Regions from separate parts of the Homo sapiens genome. Here region 1 is linked to region 2. The links are contacts of gene promoters, found by promoter capture Hi-C in blood cells and fetal thymus (Javierre and others, 2016). All regions are on one chromosome and are shown on one strand. The core of a region is centred on a gene start or on the middle of the fragment in contact, and the rest is flanking DNA. Distances in the headings are between cores, read along the strand shown.

Region 1 (4,003 bases), core at 1,465-3,964, 510 kb after region 2:
CACAAACCTCCCCCTCCACTAACATATTTTTCCCAGTGGTACCTTCCGCTAACCATGCCCGCTGAGAGAAGTGCTGCATCTGCCCACAGGGGGTGCCCAGAGGGTGGCCTTTTTTCAGTCCCTATGAAGGTGCGCCAAAGCTGGCAGCCAACTCTGAGCTCAACATCATTTAGGAAAATCACTGCCATCATCAACTGGAAAATAAAGAAAGTACAGCAGCCCTGAAACCCTTTTTTACCAACCTGATTTTGCTCTTCAAGCAGTAGTACAGGTTGTAAAAAAAATAAGTGAATTAAACATTCTTTCCAAATCATCATCATAAAACTGTTATAGACCCTAGGAAAAATAGCTTTTTGTAAGGAAACACAGAAAGAATTGTTTCTAGACACTAGATGTATTGATTCACAAATGAAAAGTGGCTTAACCAAAACAAAAGAAGACTCCTGCTTTTATAAGGTTTTGCTTATAGCAATTCAACTGCTCCTTTTCATCACCAGGGTATGTTGGTGGGAGGAGCTAATTGGCCTAATTTTTCAAGATGAGAACAGGGAGGCAGAGAGGTCAGACTAACCTCCCCCTGGCTGTATGGGAAATCAATGGAATACTTTTTGGCTGCAGATGTGGCCCTGCCCCTTGGCCACTGCGCCAGTGAACTCTGGGAGACAGGATTGAGTACGTGGTCAAGGGACCCACCTCAATGGCTGCCTTCTTGGCCTTCTCTTCTGCATTTTGACACTCCTGCACCACCTCTTCAGCTTCTTTCTGCATCCGGGCAACATCAGCCTCCAGTTTCTTCTTCTGGCTGAGGAGGCTTGTGTTCTAAAGAAAAGCAGCATTCCTATTAGGCAAGTAAAAACCAGCAATGCAAATGCAAGCTGGTCTGTTCAGGACATGCAATGGGAGTCAGCTCTGGCCAGAAGCAAATTTTATTATAGTGAGCCATAGTCCCTTAAGCAGTGCTCCCAATCCCGAAAGGCTTTTGCCATCAAACTTGAATGGAAGGGATTTCACCCATTAGAAGTTCAAGACTAAAGAGATGGCAGCCTGAATCAGAAGGGAAGAAGGGTATCTAGATAACCTACAAGCCCCAAACGTGTTTGGTTTTCAATGGGTTGAGGAAATGTTTCTCTGCCACTTGCTTTTGGATGTGGTAGAAACAAGTGTTCTAGAGCAGAAGTTGGGGTCAGTTGCAGACATCTGAGGAGCAGAGGTTGGGGAATAAAAATTGTAACTCCAAGTATGCTGCTCCAGAAACAAACAAAAAAAATCATTCCTCTTCTTTTTGTACTTCCCTTCCTATCTTACTTTACAGTGAGGAGGTGGGGAAAGTAGTTCAGAATAAGCCTCCTCCAGCCCTTAGGTACCCTCATTACCACGGAGGATTCTTTGTGTTCTGTGGTTGGTGCTGCCCTAATTCTTTCCTTCCTGAGTTGTGACACTAGAGGCCAAATATCCTTTTGCTGCTATTTGGTCTGTGTTTGAAGCCCAGCTTTTCTGAGGGTGTGAAAACTCGCAGTGTATATAAAAGGCATAGGCTTTCTATTTTTTTATTTCTCCTTTCACTTTATCCGTTTCACATTCACTTGCCTCTGGCTAGTGCCTTTCTCAGTAGCAGGATGAAGACTTGGAAATAGAAGGATACTCCAGGCCAGGTGTGGTGGCCCATGCCTGTAATCCTAGCACTTTGGGAGGCTGACGGGGGTGAATCTCCTGAGCTCAGGAGTTTGAGACCAGCCTGGGCAACATGGTGAAACCCCGTCTCTACCAAAACTTTTACCAAAAATAGTTGGGTGTGGTGGCATACAGCTGTGGTCCCAGTTATTCGGGAGGCTGAGGTGAGAGGATTGCTTGAGCCTGGGAGGCGGGGGTTGCAGTGAACCGAGATTGCACCATTGCACTCCAACCTGAGTGACAGAGTGAGACTCCGTCTCAAAAAAGAAAAATAAAAAATAGAATGATATTCCAGCATCACTGGTTCTATCTACCCCATTTCTCTATGGCATGAAGCATCTTTATCAAGACTGCCATCTTTTGTCCTTATGGAAAGCCAGGCCCTGTATACCTCCTAGATTTCCACTGCCATGGCCTGAGAGATGGGGTGGAATTAAGTTGTATTTTCCTGAAGTGTTTTTTGGATGCTCACAGCACAGACTCCATAGAAACTATTTCTTTGTAGAGGAAGGTATAAGTACAAATACTAATTTGTTTGTACATAGAATCCTTTAAAATTTGCTAGGGAGACAAGGGTTTAAATCTTTGCAAACTGAATTACTCTCTAATTTGTTTTTTTTTTCTTTCTTTTTTTTTTTTTTTAGGAGAAAGGGAGTTAGGAAGTGCTTTGCAGAAAGGTAATCTAGATTGTCACAGCTCAAGTTTGAAAAAGACACCTGTAATCAGTCAAAGATAAGTTTAGCCTCAAATGTTAGTCCTAGGCTGGAGATCTGGAAATGCAGGAGGTAGCTAAGAAGGCTCCCTAAAAGGTTCAGTATGTTTTGCTTGATAATGTTCTAGTAACTGCAAGGTGCCGCAGCATGGTTTAGGTTGGGGAGAGGTCCTTGTGAATAATATCACCTAGACCAGTGCTGGTCAAAGGGTAGTCTTTCTATGAGCAGTAGCACCTGAGAACATGTTCACTTTCTAGGTCCCATTGCAGAGCTTCTGATTTAGTGGATCTGGGGTGAGATCTGAGAATTTACATTTTTGTGTTAGGGATTCTTATATGTACACATCAAGTTTCAGAAACTCTGCCCTAGAGACCAGGTCTCCTCTACCTAATTTTCTTCTTCCCCAAATCCTCTCCTCTCTATGAATGCTTTTTCTCTAGCTGATCCTCATCTCTCTCTAGGCTAGTGATTTTGCATCATATTGGATCCCACTGGTGCATTATCATGTATGATATGCATGGCAAATGATTTGTTACCAACAGCAATTAAGTACTATAGACCAGCGGTCCCCAACCCATTTGGTTTCATGGAAGAAAATTTTTCCATAGACCAGGTAGCAGGGTTGGGGGGAGACGGTTTGGGGATGAAACTGTTCCACCTCAGATTATGAGGCATTAGATTCTCCTAAGGAGCATGCAACCTACATCTCTCACATGAGCAGTTCATAAGAGCATTTGCACTCCTATGAGAATCTAGTGCTGCTGCTGATCTGACAGGAGGCAAAGCTCTCTCCCCTGCAGCTCACCTCCTGCTGTGCAGCCCAGTTCCTAATAGGCCCCAGACCTGTACTGGTCTGTGGCCCAGGGATTGGGAAACCTTGTTCTAGACAGTGGATGAGTTACTTTTTTAAAAAAAGTCTGTAGTCTATTTTATAAGAATCCAACTCATTGTATTTAAACTTTCTTGAAGGAGAAAAAAAAAATGTTTGAGTTAGCCTGTTGGGAATTATCTATAACCTACAGACTATTTGTTCTATACCACATGGTACCCAGACGGGATTGTGTCATACACATGGACACAAAAGTCAAACTGTAGGCACAAACTAATTACAACATCTTTCAACAGGCACATTTCTGGTTTATACTTTCTTTTATCCAGTATTTTTCAGTAGGGGGAACATTGGCATTCTGGAAGGGGCAGTTCCTTGGGATTATCCTTCACCTTGAAGGAGTTTTGGTATCTCTGGACCCTACTCACTAAATGCCAGTGGTATTTCCCAGTCACTGTGGCAACTAAAATGATCCCACAGATGTTTCTAAATGCCCCAGAGTGTAGCAGTTCTGCCCCTAGGTGCTTTAATCTGTCCTTCACAATAATCACCACAGTAAAACTTCCTAAAATGCAAATCTGATAACTTCACTCTTAGCTACTCAAAATTCTTCAGTGGCTCTCCATGAGCTGCAAGATAAAATTCAAACTCCATCACTCTCAGGCTCAGGGTCACTGGTGACCTGGCCCCACCTATCTCAGCATGATTTCTGATCCTTCTGGCTATCCACCGAATACTCTAGCATGTGAATTTCCCTTAGAATCCTAAACTCCTTCCCCCTGCCCCCATG
Region 2 (4,304 bases), core at 1,040-3,539:
CATGAAAATAAAAGTAAAAAGTATAGCCTCATCACCCCTGTGATCAAATGTGGTAGATTTGGTTTCAGATGGAGAAATGAAAAGATTCGAGTATAACATGAAAAGGCTATATAGAATCAATATGGAAAAACTGATGTGGGTCACAAAGTGACAAATATATGGAGATGAAAGTCAATTCAAAGCTCAGTTCAAAGATGTGTCCTGACCTTTACCTTTTTATCCAGTTCAAATAGTATAGGATTGTGCCAAATGTAGCATTAAAATAGAGCTCTGGTCAATGTTTTCTTATAAGGCTTCTCTGCTGTTGACACTTACTAAATATGTTAGCATCAAACGCAAGCATAAACAGTATATCCCCTTAAAACATACACAAACATTTGTGAATTTCTAACATTCCTTTGTCACAAAAATAATAGTAATAACTTGAGTATAAGAATAATTTACATCTTTAATAGCTGCATTTTCTATTCAAATAATCTATTGCCTTGGATTCCAAAATGATATTTGTGATATGAACAAAAGAGAAATTATAGTAAGATTAACCTCTAAAAATGTATTGTGAAGATTATGCAGCTGTTCTGTAGAATTGGAAATAATGGAAAATTGACAGTGAAATATAAAAGTAGATCATGAATAGTTAATACCCAATTTTTCCATGATGAAGGAATTAAAATAATGACTAAGTAGTCACCACAGTGACAATTTAAGACAAATTTGTCATCTCCCAGCGCCTAGCACAAGGTCTTGCATTTATTATGAGCTGAATAAACATTTGCTGGTCTAAATTTAATCTTTCCAGGATGAATGTTTATAGGCATAGTGAGGTAATAGTGCAACTATTCTGTATAAAGTCTACGGGTTTGGTATTAATAAAGGCAATACATTTTTGTCTTACTAACAAAACAAAATGGAATACAAGTGTTTTAAGTACGGTAACCAGCTTCCCCAAAGAAGTTAAAACTGAGAGTGATTGTTGACGGTTGTGACTGATGCTTGTTCTTGCCCCAAATGTTTCAGCACTAGTGCATTCTTTACTCACAGAATTTAGGTTCTGAGGAAAACCCTCATATGTCTTTCTGAGGATCATACACAGGAGACTTTAGCAGAACTAAAGCAAACGCAAAAGAATCCAGAATCTGGAATCTTCTGCATGTGATGCCACAGGTGACATTCTCCCACTCTGGGATGAAATAGACAGTTTCTCCCTTGCTTCTCCTGAAACCAGTACATTGGCTCAAGCTGTAGGCTCTGCCTGCAGGATGCACCAGCTCGTGTTTGAATTAAATACAGTGACTTGAAGAAGGAAGAACTCTACAGAGTCTACTCTGGCAACACCGGGAACAGAAGCAACAGGACATTCAGCTTCCAGAAACTGCAGCGGTGCAGTTCCAATGGTTTCTGGCCTCTACAGCCTGTATTCTTAGTGGTTTATGCTCCAATTTCTATACACATTGTTAGTAGCAGCGGTGTCTTCATGAGACTAATTCCGTGGTGTGATATTGTTTGAGGATGCTTATGTTCGTAGTCATGGAAATTTAGTGATTGCCTCCCCAGCATTCATTCTCTCTGTTCCCTTTCTGATGGGGACATGCAGATTGGTTGGGACTAATCTCACAGCAGCTCCAGGGATGGGCCCTAGTTACAGTGGTTGGGATGGCATTATGATCCAAACTTTGTCAAAAAGAGAGAAGATGTTTGATGGGGAGCATCTGGAGAATAAAATTATTCTGTCTTTCATGGATGCTAAAAAAAGATGCTCCCTTCATCCACTGGTTGTGAATCAGGAAGCAACCACCCCAGTTGTTCTGGTAACTATGTTGATATGGTGAAGCTATCAAAATAGTTTTAGGGCTATTCTGCCACTGGGGAAGGCTGAGACACAGAAAGGAAGTCGGTCCTGGGACATCATTAAACTGCTGGAGCAAGCTTACCTGAAGGGTCATCTGGTAAGCAGATATGGAGATGGAATTACCAGTGTCCAAGCTTTATTGAGGTAATGTTTGTGAAAGATAAAAGCAAGGCACAGGAAATATATGGGCAGCAAAACCCTTCAGACCTTGATCCAGGCCTGACACCTGTGAAAACAAAGGGAAACCCCGCAGGATTGGGCAGGAAGGGCCTCAAACTGTGATGCAGATTTCATAAAGTCTCTGCCAGCACCAAAGGGAGATCTAGAGCAAAAGCTGCTTGTTGGAAGAGTATGACAATGGGCGGAAATGCCCAGACACTAGTACTCCCACTGTACTTATTCGCCAGGGCTGTCGAGAAAGCTCAACACTGTTGTTCCAACTCAACACTGTAGAGGACCCTTAATGCCCACTGGCTGGCGGCTGTCAGTTACCGGCATCCTGCACACGTGGATAGTTTGTTCTTTTTTGAAGGGAGATCCAAGTAAGTAGTACACCTCCTTCCATTTCTGGGTTTCTTAAATTACTTGAACCACAAAATCTTTATATTATTACTGTTGTTGCTGTTATTATGATTTAAACAGTTAGACCGATTTTCTGTTACCTGTGAGCAAAGGAACTGTGATTGGTATGTGAAGTAATATTTTTAGATTTAAAAAGATTGTCAGTTCAGTTTAACATATACTTAAGAGGCAAGATACTTTAGTTATATTATCTCTGACCTTCAAAAACAAACAAATGAACAAACTCACAAATGCAGAGCTTATCACAGAACTGTTATGTGGTTGGAACTAATAAATGATAGCTATGATGATTCATCTCCATTTCAGTTATATTGCTCTTCAGTGTTTAATAATGGTAATTGGGTTTTTAGTTCCCAAAATGTGACTTTTTTTCTTGCACAGAAGTTAATGCTGATAGTTTCTTATGATTGTGTTAATGTTGAACTGACAAAAGGTATAAATTTTATAACTTAGTTTTTATAAGCCTTTACTTTTAACTCACAAATCTTGTTGCTATATTTGCAAATCTAATAATGGTGTAAGAATTTTAAGCACTTAACTTCATTTGTTATTTAATTAATGCTCAATTAGTTTATAAATTTTATGGATCAGATCTCTCAAATGTTAACAGTATATAGAAACTTTATTAACTAGATATTTTTAGACATTTCAAACAATTATTACCAATTTGAAAACCAGTTCTCCCAAATAATTCAAACACCTATTAAGCAAACTTACAAGTCTAACATGCAAGATATTTGCAATCTTTGTGAAAATCTAATAAATTTAATAAATTAGACAAATTTAATAAAGCAGATTCTCTTATCCATTTCAAACATCTTAAAGCAGATAAAGCATATATGAAGCAACACAATGACTATAAAATAGCTTACACATGCAAAAATCAATTCCACTTAAATCTATACTTCCTGGAGTTGGACACTTAGTTACCCAACTAAGAGGATGGTTACCCAAGTAACCATCATCAAGGGCCTGCTGTGGTTACTTGTGTAAAACTTGGGATCATCAGAAGGTTACCAACTCAGGTTGGGGTAGGGACTGTGGCCTGGGGACACTATCTAGGTGTTACTTAAAGAATGGTACTTCCTAAGCCACCAAATAATACCTTCCAAGTCTCCTCCTATAATCTGGTTTTAGTTGCTTCATCCCTGGCACACTCCAAGCTTGTAGATCTCAACTGGGATACAATTTAGTTTCACAACTCAATTTATCATGTGTCTGTCAAGTTTCATCTTTACCTACATTTTCAACTTTGTATTATTTGATTTCCATAGATGGAATCTGAATTCTCTAGCTATATTGTAACTTACATCTTTGCTGCCTGATTTGACATAAGAAATTCAGCACCCTCTTTTTTTGTGTGTCTCAGCTCTATCCCAAAGTAATTTTTGGAGAACAAAAACATCTTTTCTGCTCTTAAGTTGTTATCATTCTAGTAGAGAGAGCCAAGACATATACAAAAATCACCTACACTAAAAGGCAAAAATGAAGAAGACCATAAAAGTGTTGTAAGCAAATTTCTGTAAGATCACTGTGATAGAATTCTAAGATGGTCCCAATGAACGTTGCCCCCTGGTGTTACTCCTGAAATTATGTTACCTCACGTGGCAAAAAAAGGATTTTCCAGAGTAACTGAGGTTAGTAATTAGTTGACCTGAAGACAGGAAAGCTTTCCAGGTGGACCTAACCTAAACACATGAGCCCTTTAAAAGAAGGGAGTTTTCTCTGGCTGGTAGCAGAAGAGGAAGTCAGAGAGTAAAGCAAGAGAGAGAAGGAATGTGCAGGAAGCTGTCTGTTGTTGAGATGGAGACAGCCCCAGGGGAAGGAGCTGAGAGTGGCCTCTAAGGGCTGAGAGTGGTTCCCTAAGTGACAG

Evidence for each region. The method cuts DNA at HindIII sites, captures the fragments that hold promoters and counts their contacts. A CHiCAGO score of 5 or more calls a contact.
Region 1: a contact is called between a fragment that was not itself captured here and the fragment with the promoter of LINC00636 in region 2, in 6 of 17 cell types (activated CD4 T cells, naive B cells, M0 macrophages and 3 more). The highest score is 5.8, in activated CD4 T cells.

The regions. Positions count from the first base shown.
Region 1 is chr3:108,393,338-108,397,340 of GRCh38, forward strand. It overlaps MYH15 (myosin heavy chain 15), which reads right to left. Exons shown (of 41, transcript NM_014981.3): 36 at 694-819. Among named protein-coding and RNA genes, the nearest start is that of HHLA2, 99 kb to the left of the region's middle. The HindIII fragment of the contact is 6,952 bases long and covers 1-4,003 here.
Region 2 is chr3:107,880,916-107,885,219 of GRCh38, forward strand. It overlaps LINC00636 (long intergenic non-protein coding RNA 636), which reads left to right and starts at 2,290. Exons shown (of 3, transcript NR_015394.1): 1 at 2,290-2,391. The HindIII fragment of the contact is 1,611 bases long and covers 1,982-3,592 here.